Linked DNA regions of Homo sapiens: all the other regions are linked to region 2. The links are contacts of gene promoters, found by promoter capture Hi-C in blood cells and fetal thymus (Javierre and others, 2016). All regions are on one chromosome and are shown on one strand. Each heading gives the region's core, a stretch centred on a gene start or on the middle of the fragment in contact. The rest is flanking DNA. Distances are from core to core; before and after follow the strand shown. Region 1 overlaps LOC124902605. Region 2 holds the start of CEND1 (cell cycle exit and neuronal differentiation 1). Region 3 has its middle 6.6 kb from the start of PKP3. Region 4 has its middle 19 kb from the start of IFITM3.

Region 1 (5,740 bases), core at 3,068-5,567, 260 kb before region 2:
GAGGAAGCGGGACCTTCAAGCTAGAGTGAACGGTGGCTGTGTGGGCAGGCGGCTGGTGCGACAGGGACTGTGGCCGTGACTCCCACCCGTGATTCCTGGATACCATCGCCACAGAGAAGCGGCACCGGACATGGATGGCGAGCACCTGGTCTGTTCTGCGGGGTTGCGCCCGTCCTTTCAGAGGGCCTCCTGGCCGGCGCCATAACTGGTCTTCAGGGGCCGTCCCACGCTCTATTAACCCGCTGCTCCTGGGAGCACTGCCTGAGCATGGGATGAGTCCTGCTGTGGGAAGCAGCATCGGTGGGGGTGTGATGGACAGTGGGGTGCTGTCGAGTCCGTGGACGAAGCCATGGGCAGGAACAGCAAGTCCACATTCAGAAAACTGCGAGGGCCTCCGTGACAGCTGACGACCTGTCCCTGTCCTGTCTGTGGAGGGCCGGCGAGGCAGGCGAGGACCCGTCCCTGGGGAATGGCACCATGAGGGGACCAGATTGCTGCCCCTGGAGTCGGCAGGGCACTTGTGCTGCAGGGCCGTGCAGAGCCCCCATCCCGCCACATCCCACCTTCCTCTTGGGCCCCTGGGGCCTGCCTGGCATGGCTGCTGAGTGACCGTGGGCGCTGACCTGTGACCGTCATGAACATACCACAGGCCACACTGGCTCTCCCGTCTTCTACATGCCTCCATGTCTTTCACACCTTGACACTTTTGAGGGGCTCTGGGCAGGTGTGTGTAGAACCTCCCCTTGTTGGGGACGTTGGATGTGTTCTTATGATTGAGATTGGAGTTATGCATTTTTGGCCAGGAAACTGCAGAAACCACATGCTCTTCTTTATTTTTGTTTTTATTTTATAGAGACAGGGTCTCACTCTGTTGCCCAGGTTGGAGTGCAGCGGTGCCATCACGGCTCCAGCCTGAGCCTGGAGTGGGGACAGGATGACGAGAGCCCACCGTGCATCCCAGCGACTCTCCAGGGCACACTCTGGCTGTGGCTCGGACACAGACACCCTGGGCCCCAGGGGAAGCCTCAGCTGCATTCTGAGCTCCCTTCTGAGGACAGAAGTCAGAGGACACCAAGACCCCTCCGGAGGTCCCCTAGGGTAGGTGTCGCTCAGACCCCTTCAGCCTCTAACCAGACAGGAGCTGGGGCCTGGGGTCCCCAGAGGAAAATGAGGGGTGACTAATGAGGCTCAGGAGACTGGGGTGGGGGCATCTGACGGGGATGCAACTGGCACCTGGCTTCAGGGGCATTCGCTGATCCACCTGGGGCACCCCGGATTGACCCTGGTCCTTCTTTCCCCTGGAGCAGCGTCAGGGAAGGAAAGGAGCTGCCCAGTCGGGCCACGCTAGATCCCAGCACACAGGCACGCAGTGAAGAAGCCAGGCCACTTCTCAGTTTTGTTATGAAGATCGTTTAGGGCCCATGGTCTTCCCTGAAAGGATCCGGGGAACCTCCAGGGACCTGTGGGCCATGTGGGAGAGCAGCTGAGACAATTTATCACCTGAGACAATTATTAGTATCACCAGGTGAATATCAATGCCTGGGTAGGGAGTTCCCCGGAGCAGGCAGGTGGGAGCTGGAGGAAATGCTGTCAGCATCGCCACCCTTGGCCCCTTCAGAGCTGAAATTGTTAGAAGAGGCCACTCCTGCCTTTCCTGACTATCAACTTCCTCTGTCCAAGATGGGGCTGGGCCCTGGAGGAGACTCACCTGGCCCAGTCCCAGCGCAGGTCAGACAGGCCCCCTGCACCTGTTCCCTGCCTTTTTGGGACCTCAGTTTCCCTGCCTGGTCCCCGGTGGCCTCTCCAGGCTTGCAGCCTGCTGCTGGATGGAGCTGGTTTCGAGGGGGGTGGACAGCAGGTGCGACCCCCAAGCCTGCAGAGGAGCTCGCAGGCAACGCACCAGCTCCTTCAAGGAACAAACAAAGGCTGTGGCTTCCCAGGAAGAGCCAACAGCTGCGGGCCAGGGCGGGGGGTGGGAGGGGAGATAGTCCACCAGGAGGCTCAGCCACCCACCCCGCAGCCTCGCCCTGACTGCGTTTATGGCCAGATCCTGTTGTGGGCGCAAGTCCAGCTCCACTGCCCTCCCTCCTGCTGGCATCTTCCAGGAACTGGCAGGGGCAGCAGGAACCTAGGGACCCAAGAGCCAGGAGACGGCCAGGATCAGCATTTGCTTCTCATTACCGGAGATGGAGGAAATGGGCAGCTTCTCCTGCTGTCCAGATTGTAGGACTGGGGCGGCATCATCAAGAGTGGAATGTGACGTCGTCCAGCTCCCCAGACTCGGCCCTCCCGGAGTCCAGGGCTGCCAGGCTGCCCTCTGGCCCGGGGGAAGTGCCTGGGGAGGATGAAGGAAGCCAGAGGGTGCTGGGGCCCGGTGCCCATGCATCTGTCCATCGCGTTCTGCAGGGAGCAGCCTCCCAGGGACCCCACTGCCTCCCGGATCCCCGGGGGAGGGGCAGATAGGGGCCAGGAGGATGTTTGCCAGGTGGCATCCGGTAGGAAGGTTAGGGTGAGGCTAGCGGTTAGGGATTAGGGCTTGGGGTGTAGGGTTGGGTCTAGGGTTAAGGTGTTGGGACTAAGGGGTTTGGGTGGAGGCTTGGGGTGAATTTAGGGCAGGGGTAGGCTGGGGTGAGGGTAATTTGGGGTGGTATGTTAGGGTCAGGACCCTGGGACCACGCTGGGTCTGACGCATTCAAGGGCACTTTGTCAGCCATCAAACGGGGCAAGACGCTCCACCTGGGTGACACAGAGCCGCACAGCCCTGCACCTGTACCTACACCTGGGGCCCCTCCTGTGCCCACAGGGCCTCCCCTGGTCAGCTGGGAGGGCTCTGCTAGCTGCCTCCTATCCCTAAGTGGACACAGTCCCTGGATCCTTCCCCCAGGGCTGGCCACACCCAGCTGACCACTCCCCCAACTCCCCTCTGGGCCCAGGCAGTCACCAAGGGGGTCAGCCGTCCTCAGTCCTCTCAGCCACGCAGGCCTGGGCCTCGGGTAGGGCTGCAGGACACACCTCCCCTACAGCTGGGCAGGTCCATGGTGTCCAGGCAGCCTGCCCTGGCCCGGCCCCAGGTGGTGCCTGGCATGCAGAGGACCGGAAGGCGGCAAGACCCCCGCTGCCAACGCCCCTCTCCGGCCCAGATAAGGTTCTGGGGAAGTCATTTCTTCCAGGCCCAGCTTCGGGAGGGTTGCAGTGTCCACACACATCTCCCCCTGCAGCTCAACCAGGCGCCACGGGAGGCACCCAAACAGCTGTGGGAACTGCAGGAAGGAGGGGAGGAGAGGGCGGGGAGTGGAGGAGGGAGGAGCTGCCCAGGCGTCCCCCGCGTAGGGGTGCAGGCTCCTGGGGATGCTGGGGACTCCAGGTCCTCACTGGCCCTTCCCGGCTGGCCCGCCTTTGCTCTGCATACAGCTGGCGCTCAGCAAAGCTTGCCGCTGCTGATGGACAATTCCATAGCTCACTCCAGCATATCTGTGCCCCAGGAGACGGTGCCCTCCTGGCCCCGGCCTGTGCCCTCTGTGGCCATTGAGGGCCCCGCCAGGCCTGCGGTCACAGGCGGGGCCAGTGCAGGGAGGAGGCCCTGACCACAGCAAAGGGGTCCGCAGCAGGGGAGGCACCAGCGTCCAAGTGCCCGTGCCCAGGGAGGTGCCACCTCTGACACGGACAGGGCTTCAGGCTTGGGACACAGGTGCCGGGGAAGCAGAAGGGAAAGGGAGGGGGCGGAACCCCGGCAGCAGGTCGGCTTGGTGACTGCACACCCCACGGGGGCAGTGGCTTACAGGGACCCACAGCCCAGGAGGGCCTCACCTTCGGCCCCTCCCAGCAGTAGCACCAACTGCCGTGGCCGCCCACACTACCCTCGTCCCGACGGCCACCCACACCAGGCCCTCCGTGGCCAGCACTCCTGTCATCCACATCCCCATCTTGCTGATAAGCGGGCGGTGAGGACACAGGAAACCCAGGCTGTCACCCGCCCAAGTCCGGAGCCAGGATGGGTCCCCCAGGTGGGAGAAGCCTGGTCTCACCCCCAGAGTGGCCCAGCCTGTCCCACAGCCAGGATCTAATGCCAGTCTCCCAAGGAGTGGGCACAGGGGGGTGTCTGGCCCCCCCTTATGGGGAGGGAACTCTCCATGGGGGGCCAGGAGCTGGGGAGCCTCAGGGGTCACAAGAAGCTGGTGGAGCCAGGGAGCCATGGCCACAGCGTGGGGGCAGGTGCCCCAGGAGGGGGAGGGGAGGGCATGGCCTTGGTTGCTACCAGCCCCCGCACTGGCATTCGGGCAGCATGGGGGCACATTTTGGGCCTGGGGGACTGTGCCATCGTGGCCAGGAGCACCTTGAGAAGCCAGGAGGGCTGGCCAGGGTGGGGCAGAGCAGAGCAGGGCAGGGACAATCTGCCCAGACGTCTCACCACCCCTCAGACACCCCCAGACTTGCCTGGGCCAGGATAAATACGCAGTCCTTGCCCCAAGGCCCAGAATTAGGTACGTGGGTACCTGCATGTCTGGCCGGGTCCCCTGCCTCTCTGTGCAGAATCCTGATGCCCCCTGGCAGGCCTAGGGGTTCAGCAGAAGCAGGTTGCAGCCCCCACACCCCTCTAATGGGCCACATAGAAGGTGGGCCAAGGGCAGTGGATGGGGGGCCTGGGACACAGCAGCTGGGACACTGCCCCAGGACCAGGGTCGGGTCCAGGAGTGGAGAACCCAGGGCAGTGACGGGGAGAGCAGACAGACCTGGGTTGAGATGGTGTCTGGGTGGGAGTCCAGGGGGCCGGGGGCCCAGCTTCCCAGGTGCCAGGGGAGCCCCCGCCCCTGAGTCCTTGGTGAGCTGAGTCTCCAGGGTGTGGTGCTCCCAGCATCCTAGCCAGGCCTTGTGGCTGCAGAGGGACAGAAACCAGGCCCAGCTTCCTGCTGGGGGGGTCACCTCTCCCCAGGGGTCCAGGACACCGCTGCATCTGAAAATGAGCAGGAAAGGGGTGCTCAGTGCAGCCTCAGGGCCTTGGGGACCCCCTTGGATCTTGCCAGCTCCCGAAATGCAGAGAGAGAGTCGGGCAGTGGGGCCAGGGCTACAGCCCCCATGTCTCCTCAACGTCTGCCTGGCTCTGTCTACCTCAGGGAACCAGGGCTCCTCATACCGGACCTGGCCTCTACCCGCCCAGGGCGCTTGGAGCAAAGACTGTGGTCCCAGGTTCCCCGACAGTGGAAGCTTCCCTGCCCAGCCCAAGCCGTCTGCAGCCAGACCAGAGGCTGGTGTGGCACCATGGAAGGTTCCGGAGGGCGAGAGCCGTGATGCTGTAGCCCGCCAGCAGGTGGCACCTGGCACCCGCACCACAGCCCGGAGGAGGGCTGGGCAAGGCGTGTGCTCAGGGCCGTGTGGCCCAGGTGTGTGCCTGCGTGTGCCTGCATGTTGGCAAGTCCGGTGCCCGGGTGGCTCTCAGGCATCTTGGGGAGAACAGTCAGCCCACAGCCGGGCCAGAGCCCTCTGGCCCCATTGATGGGAGGCTCTGGGACAGACAGCACTGAGAAGGGAGAGAAGCTGGGCAGGTGGGGCAGGTGGGGCCACCGGGCAGGCGTGAGGGTGACCCTGCCAAGTGGCACAGGGACGATCTGAGTCCTGCAGGGCCCGGCAGCGCCTGAATAATGGGAGAAGCTGTGTGAGCCGTGCACGGGCGGGACAGCAAGGCGGGCGGGCGTGGGTCCTGTACACACGGGTGTGGGTGTGGCTGAGCGACCACTCGCCCTCT
Region 2 (5,375 bases), core at 1,194-3,693:
GGGGGGAGGGAAGGGGGAGGCCGGCCTGCCCACCCCACCACCTCCTGTCCCCACGGCCACCTCCCTCCCCACAGGGATGTCCCCTTCTCTGTGGTGTACTTCCCGCTCTTTGCCAACCTGAACCAGCTGGGCCGCCCGGCGTCCGAGGAGAAGTCGCCTTTCTACGTGTCCTTCCTGGCCGGCTGTGTGGCTGGGAGTGCCGCCGCTGTGGCCGTCAACCCCTGTGATGGTCAGTGCATGGGATGGCGCCCGGCTGGGGATGGGGCGGGACTGAGCCCTTGGCCAGGCTCACACTGACCCGAGCGCCCCTTGCAGTGGTGAAGACGCGGCTCCAGTCACTTCAGCGAGGCGTCAACGAGGACACCTACTCTGGGATCCTGGACTGTGCCAGGTGGGGAGGTCCCACGGCGGGTGGGGCCTGGGGGCCTGCGTACCGGGCTGACCCTTTCGTCCTTCCTCCACAGGAAGATCCTGCGGCACGAGGGCCCCTCGGCCTTCCTGAAGGGCGCCTACTGCCGCGCGCTGGTCATCGCGCCCCTTTTCGGCATCGCACAGGTGGTCTACTTCCTGGGCATCGCGGAGTCCCTGCTGGGGCTGCTGCAGGACCCCCAGGCCTGAGCCCAGCACCCGCTCCACCCCAGCCAGCTGGGCAGGGCCGGTGTGGGGCTGGAGCCAGGCAGCTAGCCCAGGACGGAGCAAGGGAAGACCCCTCCCCAGCCCTCCCGTCGGCAGGGGCAGCAGGGGGCAGGGTGCAGGGTCCACATAGGTGGTGCACACGCAAGCCCCCCGGGGTGCTGCCTGCACCGTTGGGATCAATGTCTCATTTATGTAGAAAATGCAGAAATCTTTACATTCCTCAAGCTAGCCCCTGCCCCAATCCTGCCCTGGCCTGAACACCCCCAGGGACAGAGCTGGTCTCTGGGCTGGGGGCCCCCGGGCCTGGGCCGGGCAGGCTGGACCATACCCCCAGTCCACCAGCTCCAGTCTCCACAGCCATCCTGGCCCACACAGGCACCCCACACAAACCTATTTATTGAATCTGCTGGACCCAAGCGGCTCTCCAGCCCTTCCGTCCTTCCCCAGCCGCTCTTGTCGCCTTGGCAGGACTTGACTCTGCCTCCCTGGCCAGCCTTGCAAGAGGACTGGGGTCTCCTGCCCTCTCTGTTGAGCCAGGAATCCCAAGTGAGGGGTTGCCCTGAGGTCTGACTCTTGGGGCAAGCCCGCCACCCACTGTGGGACTTTCTGGTGGGCTCCTCAGCTCCCACCCCAGGCTGGGGCCCAGATTGTGAGGTCTGTGTGCATGTGTGTGTGTATGTGTGTGTGCATGCGTGTGTGTGTTGTGGGGATCTGGCCTGGCCCTTGGGGATGGGGCTGCTGGGGACTGCCCCCCTTCCCGCCGTGGCCAGGCGCTCTGTGTGCTGTGTGTGCCCCAGGCTCTGTTGACCCCGTCCAGGAACTAACTTACCCAGCTTGGTCTCTCCTGAGTCCTCCACCCTGGCCTGGGATTGGCCAGGGAGCAGGGCGGGCATTGGGACCAGTGTGGAGCCTGAGGGTGCCTGCCCTGCTCTGGAGGGAGGGCCAGGAGCTGCCACACCCCCAAGTCCTCTCAGGGCCCACCCTCCTTTTTCAGCCTCTGCATAAGGCCCCTGGGTACACTGCAGAAGCCCCATCCTTCCCGCCTCCGGGCATAAGGCCCCTGACCACACTTCAGAAGCCCCATCCCCCCTGCCACCGGGCGATCCCTGCTGTGAGCCGAAGCTCTCCCTGCCCCGCCCTGGCCATGTGATCGTGTTGGTGACAGACCCTGATGTGCTGGTGCTGTGTCCCCAAAACCGGGGCCCTCCACAGAGGCCCCTTCCCAGCGACACTACCTGGGGCTCAGGCCTGGACCCCCCCAGTTCACGGTTGCTCCTGGGAGCTGCCCCTCCCGTCACATCAGAACCTTGGAAGCTGCTGCTGCTGCTTACAGAATTATATTTTTTTCTTTTGAAGAGTTTTAAGAAGTTGTAACTTTTTGTGTCTTGTCATGTCAGAGAATAAATAAATATTCTAAGTAGATGCTGCTGTCTGTCTGGGGGTCTGTTTGGGGGCGGGGGAGGGCAGTCCCCTCTTCCCATAACTGGCTCCCTTCAGACTGCAGGGCTAGGCCTGCGCACCCACCCACCGACCCCTCACCCACCGACCCGTCACCCACCGACCAAGGGGCACCCTGGCCTAGAGGGGATGCTGAGCGGGACCCGCCTCCTGCCTCTGGCAGTCCCAGATGGGACTTGGACCCCGCAGTTGCTCTCTCGGACCCTAAGTTTCTACCCCTGGATCTAAGGCGGAGCTGGGTTTGCGGATCCCACGGTTCCCGGCGGGGCGGGGCCCGGTCGCCCCTCCCCCTCCCCGCCCTCCTGCGCCGGGAGCAGTGCATTGTGGGAAACTCCCGAGCTCTCCTCCGCGTTCGCAGCCGCCGTCATCCCGCGGAGGAGCGCGCAGCCCCGGGGAGGCCGGAGGACGCGTAAGGCGGGGGGCTCCCGGCGGGCGGGGCGGGCGGGGCGGGCGCGGCGTCCTGCGGGGCGAGGAGGCGGCTCCGGGCCTTGAAGGTCACTGGGTTTGCGCGCGGGCCCCCCAGTTCTCCAGGGCTCAGTTGATCCCGGGAGAGGGAGGCGGCGGCCGGGATGTAAGTGCCACAAATAGCGAGGTTGGGGGGGCAGACCACCTGCTCTTTGCAAACTTGATGCCCAGCAGCTGAGCCCCCCGAGAACTGCAGGGGTGAAGGGACGGCTGGGCTTCCCTGGGAGGTGGCAGCAGCTGGGCCTCTTCTGGAGACGCCCTCATCATGCTGTGACCTTCGGGTGACCTTCAGTGTGGTCAATGCACCTGGCGGGGGGTGGGGAACGTGCCTCCCTTTCTCTGCAGGTCTGGAGGGCATTTCTCATCCTTCCCTGGGAGAGGCAGACAGGCGGCCTCTGGGGCTTTGGGGCAAGACCCACTCAGGTTCAGGGCGGCTGGGCCCCCAGGGCCCTTCCCACCTCTGCCTCGGTCATTGAGAATCTGGGCACCGCCTTTCCCACAGCCCAGAACCCTGTCCTCCGCCCTGACCCGCGGGCCAAGTGCAGCATGTGCCCACCCTGTTTAACGCCAGGAACCCTCTGCCCACAGAGACAGCACAGCCTTGGGCTGGGCGAGGACTCCCTGCTCCAGGGCTGGAGGCAGGCACGGCCCATGCTGAGGAGGGGGCCCCAGAGGCTGGGGAGGGGCAGACGGCCCTTGGAAGCACAGCCCCACGCTGACTTCCTGGAGAGACACCCCAGTTTTCTCAAGTCTGGGTTCTTGTGGGCCCACCCACCCTGATGGCTGCCTGAGATCCCAGCTCCTGCCCCTCCCCGCCCTCCTCCCCCTGGGACCCTGGCCAGGTCACAGCCTCCGTGCTTTAGTGTCCATCTCTGCAAAGCAGGAATGCTCTCCTGAGGAGGGGATGCAGTCAGCTCTCCCACTGGGGCTCCGATCACCTCCTTGGAGGGGAGAATGCTCTTCCTTCGAGTTCTCTGGGCCTGATCCTTACTTCCCCACCAAGAGCCTCCTGCCCCCGGCTGGTGGGAGGATGTGGCATTTGCATGGGCCATTTTATGGAGCACAGTGGGGTCCCCTACCTCCTCCCACCTGTGCGTGGCCCTTGCCTCTGCGGCTGGAGGGGCCCCTTGAGGAGTGGTCATGGACAGATGGAGTCCAGGCCGTGAAAGAGAAGTGTCAGAGGCCCACGGGAGGCCCCTGAGCTGGGGCTCCAGAGAGTCCAGAGAACTGGGCAGGGGCTGCCTGGGGACCAGGTGGTCGGGGCAGCACAGGGGGGACTGGACCCGCGCGCAGCCTCCCTTGTGTCTCCCTCCAGGCCCATAGAATGCCCAGGGGCGACAAACTGTCCTGAGCCCCTCTGGTGCAGCCACCTGCCTGTCCCATACGCCCCGCCCACCATGGAGTCCAGAGGGAAGTCAGCCAGCAGCCCCAAGCCCGACACCAAGGTGCCCCAGGTCACCACCGAGGCCAAGGTACCCCCGGCAGCCGATGGGAAAGCCCCCTTGACCAAGCCCTCGAAGAAGGAGGCCCCGGCCGAGAAGCAGCAGCCGCCAGCAGCCCCCACCACGGCACCTGCCAAGAAGACCTCGGCCAAGGCCGACCCTGCCCTTCTCAACAACCACAGCAACCTGAAGCCAGCCCCCACGGTCCCCAGCAGTCCCGATGCAACCCCGGAGCCCAAGGGTCCTGGGGACGGGGCGGAGGAAGATGAGGCTGCCAGTGGGGGGCCTGGGGGCCGAGGTCCCTGGTCCTGTGAGAACTTCAACCCCCTGCTGGTGGCTGGGGGTGTGGCCGTGGCAGCCATAGCCCTGATTCTCGGTGTGGCCTTCCTGGTCCGGAAAAAATAATACCTGGGGGCCAGGCGGGGGGCACGGAGCCACTTCCTGTACAGACCCGAGGAAGCCAGTGCATGCAGAGTTCACCCTTACCTATTCGTACACACGCACATTCATTACACACCTACATACGCCCCCAACACACGCGCACGGTGAAGAGGACGCCCGAGCCCACCCCTGCTGACCCAGGACTTCCCCAACCTCCAGGGCAGAAAGAGCCCAGGCTCCGGGGTCCACAGCACAGGATGTGGGGCGAGGGCACAGCTGGGGAACGGCAAGAAAGGAATGGACCCTGTGTGTGGCCCCCCCCACCCCTGGCGGCTGGGTGATCCTGGGCCCCCAGGGCTGGTCTGAGTGCAGGTGGGGGTGCCGGGATGGGTTGGGCCTGGGCCCGGCCCTCGTGGGGACATTAAAGGGCGCGGTGGCTCCACTCGCCCCATTTCTGCTCTTTGCGTACCCCCCGGGGGTCTGCCTGGGCGAATGCAGTGGGACGGACCTGGGGTGGGCACTCACCTCAGCAGAGCCTCAATGCCACCTCCCCACACCACCCAAGCCTAGCTGGGTGGGAAGACGGAGCCCTGAAGCCTGCGTGTGGAGGGGGTGCTGCCCAAGGGTCGCCTTCCCCAGCTTGTGCTCCAGGGGAGCCCCGACGCCGGCGGGGAGGCAGGGATGTCGAGGGCCCCTCACAGCTGTGCCCGCCCTGCCCCGCTAGACTGCCCCTCCAGCTTGCACCCAGCACCACCTGAGTCTAACCAGCGTATAATGCAATAACAGGTAGAGTAGAACTGCTTTTGGCGGCGACCGTCACACACTGTCCTCAGCCCACTGCACCTGGGGAAGCCCCTCGTGCAGCCCCTCCTTAGCACATCCAGTCCCAGCGTGGCCCTTGGCGCGCAGCAGCAGGCGAACTCCCAGAAGGTGGTGGTGGGCACTGTGAGAACGTGGCCTGCCCTCACTGGCCAGTGGCCACAGGAACCCCGG
Region 3 (5,728 bases), core at 1,197-3,696, 400 kb after region 2:
GTGTTCCTCACCAAATTGCAGCTGCTAACAGGTGGCGGCCGCTCCTGTTGCTTTCCTGTTATAAACAGGTGGCGCTGTGGGGCCAGGTCCTCCTCAAACAAGGCGGAGGAGGGAAGTCCTGGGAATCGGGGGCCTGGCCTAAGAAGGTGCCTTCTGAAAGGAAAAAAGCTAACCCCTCCATGGAGAGGTCCCTGTATTCACAAGACTGTGTTGATTCCTGACATGGTGGAGGAAGGAGGCCTGAGATGCCACTCACAGTTGTGCCAAGAGATGGGGAGGGGGGCCCAGATTGGAGAGGAGAACTCTGGAGTCCAGGACGAGGTCCATCCTCCTTCCCTTGACCCCTACAATCCCTGGGGTTCCTGGATGGCAATGGTGGTCTGGACGACTGTAGCTGGGGAGAGGAGGCTGGGGACCCATCAGTCCTGCTGTACCATTTGGGAGACTGGCCCGAGGTCCGGCAACCCACGTCTCCAGGGATGGTCTGTCCTCCAGCGGTCCCCTGTGGGCGGAGGATGACCCAGGTGCCCAGGCAAGAGACTGAAGGCACAAACTGTTTCAGTATAATAAAGAAAATAGAATAAGAATAGTCATAATACAAATTAGATATAGAGATGCTCATGGACAATTATCAATCATTATTATAAACATTATTAGTCATTAGCTTTTAATATTACTCTTTGTTCCATTACTATATAACCTAGGAATAAGCGGTGGGTATAGGGTCAGGTGCTGAAGGGACGTTGTGAGAAGTGACCTAGAAGGCAAGAGGTGAGCCCTCTGTCACGCCAACATAAGGGCCGCTTGAGGGCTCCTTGGTCAAGCGGTAACGCGAGTGCCTGGGAAGGCACCCGTTCCTTAGCCGACCGCGAAAGGGAGTCTCCTTTCCTTGGAGAGGTCGGGGAACACTCTGCTCCACCAGCTTCTTGTGGGAGGCTGGATATTCTCCAGGCCTGGCCCGCAGTCATCCGGAGGCCTAACCCCCTCCCTGTGGTGCTTGAATGATCACACTCCTTGTCCACTTTCATGCTCCTCCCGTACTCCTGGTTCCTCTTTGAAGTTCGTAGTAGATAGCGGTAGAAGAAATAGTGAAAGTCTTAAAGTCTTTGATCGTTCTTATAACTGCATAGAAGACAACACTGATGTATGCTGCCTTTCCTCTCTACTTCGGCTACCTAAGAGGGAAGGGTCACCGTAAGGTGACTTGCTTCACCTTATCACTTAGAAGATTCACCCTCCTTATCCTGCCCCCTTGTCTTGTATGCAATAAATATCAGCGCGCCCAGCCGTTCAGGGCACTACTGGTCTCCGCGTCTTGATGGTAGTGGTCCCCCAGGCCCAGCTGCTTTCTCTTTATCTCTTTGTCTTGTGCCTTTATTTATTACAATCTCTGGTCTCCGCACATGGGGAGAACACCCACTAAGCCCCGTAGGGCTGGACCCTACAGTCCCCAAGGCAAACTGGACAGGGTCAAGGTGGCCTCCCTGCACTGTCTGGAAAGCCCCTCCTGAAGGACCCTCCTCCCTGCACTGTCTGGAAAGCCCCTCCTGAAGGACCCTCCTCCCAGGACTGTCTGGAAAGCCTCCTGAAGGACCCTCCTCCCTGCACTGTGTGGAAACCCTCCTGAAGGACCCTCCTCCCTGCACTGTGTGGAAACCCTCCTGAAGGACCCTCCTCCCTGCACTGTGTGGAAACCCTCATGAAGGACCCTCCTCCCTGCACTGTCTGGAAACCCTCCTGTGGGGCCCTAGCCCAACACATTTGCAGCAGTCACAGGTGTATCTAGGGATCCTGGGGTCCATGAGCCCACAGGGCAGCTGTTAAGAGCCTTTGCCTTCTTCCTATATCTCCTCTCTCTTTTCTGGACTTCCTCCCGGTTCCCACTGGAAAAAACTGAGGTGGCCCCTCCCAGGATGCCCCCAAAGTACCATCTGGTCCCACAGCCCATTCCCGCATCCTCCTTCTGACATCAGGGGCCGCCTGTGCAATGAACTCATCTCCTCATCCCCTAGGACCAGCCGTTCATTGACTGAGTCAGGAGACAGAGAGGCACACTTCACCAAGGCCCCTGCCATCCCCCAGGAAGGCAGTGGGGCCAATCCCTGCTCTACCATGGACAGCCTGGTGCAATCAAGAGGCCCAGCCCCTTTCTCTCATAAGCCCTCCAGCCAAGTGCAATGAGAAGCCCAGTCCCATTCCCTCACAAGCCCTCCAGTATCACATCTGAAAGTGTTTCATCCTCCATTCTCCCATTTTATCACTGGGGTCCCATTTAGGGTCCTCCAATGGTACTGCTATTCATCCAATTGGATAAAGCTTCTCTTCTTCCCTGGCCCTATATAAGATATACAGCTCATCCCCCAAATTCTCTGCCGCTTGCGGGGTGGCCTGCTTTTCAGCAGTCAGGGTTTGATTCAGAAGTAACATGATATCCTTCCAGGAGAGCTCAAATACTTGGGTTAAGTTCTGGAAAGCCTCCATGTATCTGTCAGGGCCATCTGAAAACTTGCCAAGATCCCCCTTAATTTGACTCAGAATGGCCTAAAATGAGGATTTCTAGGCTGGGGAAAGCTTGAGAGAGAACCTGAGTAGGGAGGAGTGAAGGGTTTGATTCCTCCACTGGAGGTGCCTCTGGGGTTTGCTTCTCTATTTCCCTGGGATTGCCTCTTGCAGCCTCTCCTGAGATGGCCACCAGGAGGGCTGGATCAATCCTACAGTAGAGGCAAAGGTCCAAGTTACCCTGCAAGGCAAAGAAAGCCTGCACACACGAGGCCTGGGATCACTGGCCCTCACATTTACAGAAAAGCTTCCTCCCAAGACCATGCTTCCCTTCTGTGTCTTACACTTACAGAAAAGCTTCCTTCCTGAGACCATGCTTCTCTTCTGGGTCTCACGTTTACAGAAAAGCTTCCTTCCTGAGACCATGCTTCTTTTCTGGGTCTCAAGGTGCTTGGCACCAAGTTGGCGGCCAAGGAAATAACAAGAACATTTTTGCCACAAATTTACATACAGATACCAAGGCACACTTTACTTCGTCTGTGCTATTCTTAACCTTCCATTTTATAGTTTTGATGACTCAGTCAAATGCTCATTCTACCCAGTAATATTTCTGGTTTGCAACAACATCCTTAACATTTAACATTGTACATAAAGAAGAGATAGGAACCATGACAGCCACAAAAGAAAGACAGAAAAGAATGATAGGAAAGAGTGGAGGTCTTTGTGCCAACACCCTCATGGGAGGCTGGGGACTGGAGTCAGTCCAGGGGCCTTTGGATAACTCCAAGGGGTAACCTCAGCCAAATACCCCCAGTTGCTCTAGGACCTCCTTCTGGTCCCACGTGACAGCTAGACCTCCATGAAGGAAAACTGGGTTGGAACAAAGCCAACATTCCCAATACCTGAGGGTGATGGGGGCTTGACAGTGTCCTCCCCAGCAAGCCTGGCCTCCATGTGTTGAGTCTGGTGCTTGGAGACTAGTCGTCACTTTTAACTAATTGACAGAGGCCTGGTATTTTTCTTTCATTTTAGCTGTTGAGTTTAAGGACCACGAAGAAAGGACAGAAAGAGAAGATCCACTTTTACTTACCCTTGTGCAGATCCCAGACGAGCCCCCAAACATGTTGTGGGATATTTGGGGTGTTGCTTTTCTGGCCAGAAACCTCTGTGGCCAGGAGCACCTTTGCCTGAGTTCTTGTCCTGTGTCCAGGAAGAATGAGGTACACAGACAAGTGGAGGGTGAGCAAGACGAAGAGGAGCTTTATTAAGTGTCAGAACGGCTCAGAGGCTCTCAGCAGAGAGGAGGCTGGGAGTGAGTGGCTCCTCTCTGCAGGAAGGTCGTCCCAACGAGTGTTCAGCTCTCAGCAGAGAGGGCAGCTCCTCTCTGCAGTTGGTCGACCCAATGCCTGCAGCTATCAGCAGAGAGGGTAACTCCTCTCTGCAGTTGGTTGACCCAAGGCCTGCAATGCTCAGCAAAGAGGAGGCCCTAGTGAGGGTAGCTCCTTTCTGCAGCTGGTCATCCCGTCGTCTCTCTGTCCTCTTCTCCACTCTGGCTGAACCCAGGGCTTTTATGGGCCTCAGAGGGGAGGAAATTCATGCCAACTGGTGCATGGGCAGCCATGGGTGGGCCCGGAAAAGGCACCACAAGTCCCCACTGTGGTCCTCAGGACTGTCAGCCTGGCCCCCAGCCTTCAGGCCCACCCTGGCTTGAAGGTGGAGCCTCACCAGGGACCTGCCCATTCCCTCCCAGGAGCCTGTCTGCCTCCCACTGCCGCCCATGGTGCCCAGGCCGCTCGTGCCAAGGGGTGCCCACAGGCCAGCACTGAGCTGCCCCCAGCTCCATCTTGGCCTCCCTCCCACACTCATTGGTGCCCAAAGTCTGGAGGGGCTGAGGTGGCAGGGGACTGGCATCTCGGCACTGCTCTGAGGGTGCACACCCGGCTGGGCTGCAACAACACCCGGGCTTGGCCCCGACCCCACTCCAAGATCAGAGTGGGCGCCAGGAGCAGGGACACCCCCAAGCCTGTGGTGTTAGGGGGTCCTCCCTGGCCCCCAAGACCACCAGGAGGCCTGGGTCCACACAGCAGCAACCTGGCTGGCTGCAGCTGCCCCCGTGGTGCTCCCGCCCTGCCAACCCTGCACAAATAAACCCACTGCTCCCAGGGCTGGTTCCACGAGACCCGGCTGTGCCTTCAGCTGGGTGCTCACGGGCTCCCGGGACACGGCAGGAAGCGAGGTTGAGGTGGCTGTGGGGGTTCCAGGCCTGGGAGTGGGTCTTGCCCGGCTGTGGGGGTTCCAGGCCTGGGAGTGGGTCTTGCCCGGCTGTGGGGGTTCCAGGCCTGGGAGTGGGTCTTGCCCGGCTGTGGGGGTTCCAGGCCTGGGAGTGGGTCTTGCCCGGCTGTGGGGGTTCCAGGCCTGGGAGTGGGTCTTGCCCGGCTGTGGGGGTTCCAGGCCTGGGAGTGGGTCTTGCCCGGCTGTGGGGGTTCCAGGCCTGGGAGTGGGTCTTGCCCGGCTGTGGGGGTTCCAGGCCTGGGAGTGGGTCTTGCCCGGCTGTGGGGGTTCCAGGCCTGGGAGTGGGTCTTGCCCGGCTGTGGGGGTTCCAGGCCTGGGAGTGGGTCTTGCCCGGCTGTGGGGGTTCCAGGCCTGGGAGTGGGTCTTGCCCGGCTGTGGGGGTTCCAGGCCTGGGAGTGGGTCTTGCCCGGCTGTGGGGGTTCCAGGCCTGGGAGTGGGTCTTGCCCGGCTGTGGGGGTTCCAGGCCTGGGAGTGGGTCTTGCCCGGCTGTGGGGGTTCCAGGCCTGGGAGTGGGTCTTGCCCGGCTGTGGGGGTTCCAGGCCTGGGAGTGGGTCTTGCCCGGCTGTGGGGGTTCCAGGCCTGGGAGTGGGTCTTGCCCGGCTGTGGGGGTTCCAGGCCTGGGAGTGGGTCTTGCCCGGCTGTGGGGGTTCCAGGCCTGGGAGTGGGTCTTGCCCGGCTGTGGGGGTTCCAGGCCTGGGAGTGGGTCTTGCCCGGCTGTGGGGGTTCCAGGCCTGGGAGTGGGTCTTGCCCAGCTGTGTGAGGGTGGGGGTGGCACCGTCGGCAGCCTTGGGGACATGGGGCACTGGGGACCTGCTGCCGCCACTGCTGCTCCTGCAGTCATCCTGCTCCCCTGTCCGCCTCCTTGCAGCCTGGGGTGAAGACTTTCGGCCCTCACAGAGCCCGGGTCGGCATCCGGGGCAGAGGGAGGCGATGTCAC
Region 4 (5,601 bases), core at 828-3,327, 450 kb after region 2:
GCATAAAGATTATTTTGATCCAATTCTTTTGAGACCCTTTGTAAGAAAAATTTAATTCTATAAAGGAGATAGAAGTGGTGGCTCATGCCTATAATGCCAGCACTTTGGGAGGCTGAGGGAGGAGGGTTGCTTGAGCCCAGGAGTTCAAGACCAGCCTGGGTGACATAGTAAGAGTCGGTGTATTAGTCCCTTCTCTCATTGCTGTAAAGAACTATCTGAGTCTGGGTAATTTATACAGAAAAGAGGTTTAGGCTGGGTGTGGTGGCTCATGCCTTAATCACAGCACTTTGGGAGGCTGAGGCAGGTTGAGGTCAGGAGTTTGAGACCAGCCTGGCCAACATGGTGAAACCCCATCTCTACTAAAAATACAAAAATTAGCCAGGTATGGTGGCGTGCACCTGTAATCCCAGCTACTCAGCTGGCTAAGGCAGGACAATTGCTTCAGTCTGGGAGGTGGACGTTGTAGTGAGCTGAGATCGCGCCACTGCACTCCAGCCTGGGTGACACAGCAAGACTGTGTCTCAAAAAAAAAAAAGGCAAAAGAAAAGAGGACACATGGCTGGGGAGGCCTCAGGAAAGTTACAATCATGGCAGAAGGTGAAGAGGAAGGGGGCACGTCTTGCATGGCTGGAGCAGGAGGAAGAGACAGAAGGGGGAGGTGCCACACACTTTTAAACAACCAGATCTCATGAGAACTCACTATCCTGAGAACAGCAAGGGGTAAGTCTGCCCCCATGATCCAATCACCTCCCACCAGGCTCCTCCTCCAACACTGAGGATTACAATTTGACATGAGATTTGGGTGGGGACACAAATCCAAACCCTCTCACCCCATCTTTACAAAGAAATTTAACCAACAGTTTGAGGTTGCAGTGAGCTATGATCGCACCACTGCACTCCAGCCGGGTTGTAAAATAAGACTCTGTCTCAAAACAAAACAAAACAAAACAAAGTAAACAACAAAAAAAAAGAATGGAGAAAGCATTGATTTAAATCTACATCACAAAACTTACCTTTACTTAGCGTGCATTTCTGACCCCCATCTTGGCTTAATTAGCGCTTTGCTTGCTTTCTCTCTCTTTTTTCTTTTCTTTTCTTTCCTTTCCTTTTCCTTCCTTCCTTTCTTTCTCATTCCTTCCTTCTTCCCTTCCCTTTCCTTCCTTTCTTCCTTCCCTCCTTCCTCCTCTTTCCTTTTCCTTCCTTCCTTTTCTTTTTCTTTCTTTCTTTTTTCTTTCTTTCCTTCCTTCCTTCTTTCCTTGTTCTTGCTTTTTTCTTTCTTCTTTCCTTCCCTTCCCTTCCCTTCCCTCCCTTCCTTCCTTCTTTCTTTCCTTGTTCTTGCTTGCTTGCTTTTTTCTTTCTTTCCTTTCCTTCCCTTCCCTTCCCATCCCTTCCCCTTCCTTCCTTCCTTCCTTCTTTCTCCTTCTCTTTTTTTCTCTTCCTTTCTTTCTTTTCTCTTTCTCTTTCTTTTTTTCATTTCTTTCTTTTTTTCTCTTCTTCAAATGAAGATATTTAAGGCTGAAGTCTAAGTTCTGTGCCTTTGAGATGTAAATTTTCTACTCTGCTCAAACACCTGAGGGTTATCTCTTTGATATGCAAATTTTGGGAAGCCATCTTATGAGAAAAGAAAAAAAAAGAGCTATATGGAAATTGGGCAAATGAAAAACCTTAAGTCTTTCCCGCAAATATTAATAAAAGCTTTAATCATCTGGCAAGTAATTTTGACTTGTTCCATGTGCCAGAAACAAGATTTGAAGCCTATTGTTCTTGTATTAAACAGTGTGTTTTGTATTACTGTGCTTGGCATGTGGCTAAGATTTTAGAATGAAGCTGTAACACTCTAGTGTCTGAAGAGTGTGAAAAAAAAAAAGAAAGCTATATGATCTGCTTCTGTCTGTATGTTTATGTATGTCTATGTATACATGTACACGTGACATTTTCCTACTCTAGATTGCGTTGCCAAAATTAATTTATAAAAAAGTGGTATTTAATTGGCTTAAAGAAAAATATGAGCTTATATAAGTTGAGTTATCCTTAAACTCTTAGAAATATAGAAACTAACCCAAATGTTTTTTAAATTTCATGTCATCTGAGATTATAGTTGGTAAATAAATGCTATTTAAACTTTTCTGGTTTAATGAAATATTTAGAGTTGTCAGCATTAAATAAAACGCAGACACACAACTTTGGTTTTACCTAGGTTTATTAGGCAAAAACTTATGTTATCTCTGTTACAAGAGTTGCCACCAAGAAAAGCAATTTGATGATGTCTAGCCTTGTCTGCTGTTATGAAACATCTACTTAAAAGCAGCTTGCCGATTCTCTTTGGTAGCTTGCACTGTTAGAGTCAAGTTAAATTAAATGATGGTTATTCATCGACTATCTAGAAAGATATTTTTTAAACCTTATTTTTTTTGAATAACATAAAATACTGAAACTTTGATTGCTAAACATAAGCTTGTCTACTTTTGGCTTCTTATTATAGAAGTACTAAACATACTTGTCTCTGCCAGCAAACACATCCTGTGCCATATTGAAAAATTGTATGATAAAGAAACACACACTTCTAGAAATTATGACATGGTATATTCACAGATTTGCCAATCTGCAGAATGTTGGTATGTATGCAAAAAGTTGACAAGTGTTTACTTGCTAGTTTTCACTAGAAACCAAGGTTAATAGCTGGTGTGGTGGCTCATGCTTGTAATCCCAACACTTTGGGAGGCTGAGGTGGGAGGATCACTTGAGCCAAGAGTTCCAGACCAGCCCATCTCTACCAAAAATAAAAATTAGCTGGGCTGGGTGTGGTAGCTCACGCCTGTAATCATAGCACTTTGGGAGGCTGAGGTGGGTGGATCACGAGGTCAAGAGATTGAGACCATCCTGGCCAACATGGTGAAACCCCATCTCTACTAAAAATACAAAAATTAGCTGAGCATGGTGGTGGACACCTGTAGTCCCAGCTACTCGGGAGGCTGAGGCAGGGGAATCACTTGAACCCGGGAGGCGGAGGTTGCAGTGAGCCAAGATCGCGCCACTGCACTCCAGCCTGGGTGACAGAGTGAGACTCCTCTCAAAAAAAAAAAAAAAAAAAAAAAGCTGGGCATGGTGGCACATGCCTGTGGTCCCAGCAACTTGGGAGACTAAGGTGGGAAGATCACTTGAGCTTGGGAGGTTGAGGCTGCAGTGAGCTGTGATAGCACCACTGCACTCCAGTCTGGGCAACAGAAGAAGGCCCTGACTCAAAAAAAAAAAAAAAAAAAAAAAAGATAAGAAAAGCTTTTAAAGTTACTAAGTGTTTAGAATTCTAATTATATGGTAATTAAAATTACGAGAAATAATAAGGGAAGCAGCTCTGTATGCAGAATATACAAACAAAGGAAGGCGAATTTTGGGTAAGGAAAGTTATAAGAGGCTGGTTGTGGTGGCTCAAGCCTGTCATCCCAGCACTTTGGGAGGCTGAGGGGGGCGGATCACCTGAGGTCAGGAGTTCGAGACCAGCCTGGCCAACATGGTGAAAGCCCATCCCTACTACAAATACAAAAATTAGCCGAATGTGGTGGTGCACGCCTGTAATCCCAGCTACTTGGGAGGCTGAGGGGGAAGAATTGCTTGAACCCGGGAGGTGGAAGTTGCAGTGAGCAGAGATTGCAAGACTCAGTCTCAAAAAACAAAAAAAAATTATAAGGTATGAAGGTGTGCTTTTTTTTTTTTTTTTGAGACAGAGTCTTGCTCTGTCGCCCAGGCTGGAGTGCAGTGGCACAATCTCTGCTCACTGCAAGCTCTAAGTCCAATTAAACTCTTTCTTTTGTAAATTGCTCAGTCTTTATTGGCAGCATGAAAATGGACTAATACAGTATTGCAGGAAAAGTCTGATGGAATGGCATGGCTTTCTAGGCTCAAGAGGTTTTCAAAGTCAAATCTGAAATTCTGTATTAAAAGTTCTAGTCGGGAGCAGTGGCTGACGCCTGTAATCCCAGCACTTTGGGAGGCCGAGACGGGCGGATCATCTGAGGTCAGGAGTTTGAGAACAGACTGGCCAACATGGCAAAACCCCGTCTCTACTAAAAATCCAAAAAAATTAGCCGGGCATGGTAGGTCATGCCTGTAGTCCCAGCTACTCGGGAGGCTGAGGCAGGAGAATCACTTGAACCCAGGAGGCAGAGATTGCAGTGAGCCAAGATCGCACCACTGCATTCCAGCCTGGGCGATAGAGCAAGACTCCATCTCGAAAAAGAAATTAAAAAGACTTCTAAGGCTGGGCAACATGGCCAGACTCTTTCTACCAAAAAAAAAAAAAAATATATATATATATATATATATTAGCTAGGTGTGGTGATGCATGTTTGTGGTCCCAGCCACTTGGGAGGCCGAGGTGGGAGGATTGCTTGAACCCAGGTCAAGGCTGCTGTGAGCCATGATCATGCCGCTGCACTCCAGCCTGGGCAGCCGAGTAACACCCTGTCCCCTCACCCCCACCCCTCAAAATAGTTCTAGTGCCAGGTGTGATGGCTCATGCCTGCAATCCCAGCACTTTGGGAGACCGAGGTGGGAGGATTGCTTGAGGCCTGGAGTTTGAAACTCACCTGGTCAACATAGCAAAAACCCCTCTCTAAAAAAGAAAAAATTAGCAGGGTATCCCTGTAGTACCAGCTACTCAAAAGGGTGAGGTGGGAGAATCGCCTGAGCCCAGGAGTTTGAGGCTGCAGTGAGCTATGATTATGCTACTGCACTCTAGCCTGGGTGACAGAGTGAAACCTTATCTCAAAAAGAGAAAGAGTTGTAGACTTTTAAAAACCCGACATGGCCGGGTACGGTGGCTCACGCCTGTAATCCCAGCACTTTGGGAGGCTGAGGCGGGTGGATCACGGGGTCAGGAGATCGAGACCATCCTGGCTAACACGGTGAAACCCCTTCTCTACTAAAAATACAAAAAATTAGCCGGGCACGGTGGCGGGCGCCTGTAGTCCCAGCCACTCAGGAGGCTGAGGCAGGAGAATGGTGGGAACTCGGGAGGCGGAGCTTGCAGTGAGCCAAGATCACGCCACTGCACTCCAGCTTGGGCGACAGAGCGAGACTCTGCCTCAAAAAAAAAATTTTTTTTTCATGATTTTATGTTTATATTTTAACACAAATAGGAAGATTATAGGGTGATACTTTACAGAATTGAAGGAAAAAATCTAGAATTTTATATGCAGCCAAATTGTTATTCAAATCTAAGAGCATAATAAAGATATTTCCAGAAAGCCTCAGAATGTGTCTCTCCCTCACATCTGCATTGAAAACATTCTTGAAGAAGGAAGTCAAAAAAGAAAAAAATACCAAAAACAAAAAACAGAAATCCAGGAAATGCTGCAGGCCACAGGAGAAGTCTGGGGACCAAATGTGTTTGTGAAATCTGTTATTAGGAACAAACCACTGCCAATAAAAAGGTAGATACAAAGGGCAAAGATGAAGGAAAATATGGTTGTACAAAGCCTGAAGATCTGGGTAATGCCATCAGGAAGGGAGTGAGAGATCAAAGGGATATGGGAAGGTTTGCCAAAGGGTGCGTGGTACCAGGAGCTCCAGGTATGCTAAGTCCAGGAAGTGAATGGGGCGAAT

Evidence for each region. Contacts are between HindIII fragments. The CHiCAGO score rates a contact against its expected background, and 5 or more counts as called.
Region 1: a fragment that was not itself captured here is called in contact with the fragment with the promoter of CEND1 in region 2 in 4 of 17 cell types (erythroblasts, naive CD4 T cells, endothelial precursors and 1 more); the score reaches 5.4 in erythroblasts.
Region 3: a fragment that was not itself captured here is called in contact with the fragment with the promoter of CEND1 in region 2 in 5 of 17 cell types (total CD8 T cells, naive B cells, naive CD8 T cells and 2 more); the score reaches 6.5 in total CD8 T cells.
Region 4: a contact is called between a fragment that was not itself captured here and the fragment with the promoter of CEND1 in region 2, in 1 of 17 cell types (naive B cells). The highest score is 5.3, in naive B cells.

Annotation. Positions count from the first base shown.
Region 1 is chr11:1,050,834-1,056,573 of GRCh38, reverse strand. LOC124902605 reads right to left here. Exons shown (of 4, transcript XM_047427955.1): 3 at 4,731-4,951; 4 at 1-2,335. The coding sequence starts at 793. LINC02688 (long intergenic non-protein coding RNA 2688) reads right to left here. Exons shown (of 4, transcript NR_160890.1): 2 at 4,731-4,951; 3 at 2,182-2,335; 4 at 810-1,460. Among named protein-coding and RNA genes, the nearest start is that of LINC02688, 3.8 kb to the right of the region's middle. The HindIII fragment of the contact is 1,775 bases long and covers 3,430-5,204 here.
Region 2 is chr11:787,158-792,532 of GRCh38, reverse strand. It overlaps CEND1 (cell cycle exit and neuronal differentiation 1), which reads left to right and starts at 2,443. Exons shown (of 2, transcript NM_016564.4): 1 at 2,443-2,503; 2 at 3,875-5,375. The coding sequence starts at 3,957. The coding sequence ends at 4,406. It overlaps SLC25A22 (solute carrier family 25 member 22), which reads left to right. Exons shown (of 10, transcript NM_001191061.2): 8 at 75-229; 9 at 316-391; 10 at 465-2,058. The coding sequence ends at 618. RefSeq lists a silencer at 2,303-2,532. The HindIII fragment of the contact is 25,064 bases long and covers 1-5,375 here.
Region 3 is chr11:384,722-390,449 of GRCh38, reverse strand. No RefSeq gene overlaps it. Among named protein-coding and RNA genes, the nearest start is that of PKP3, 6.6 kb to the left of the region's middle. The HindIII fragment of the contact is 255 bases long and covers 2,319-2,573 here.
Region 4 is chr11:336,714-342,314 of GRCh38, reverse strand. No RefSeq gene overlaps it. Among named protein-coding and RNA genes, the nearest start is that of IFITM3, 19 kb to the right of the region's middle. The HindIII fragment of the contact is 759 bases long and covers 1,698-2,456 here.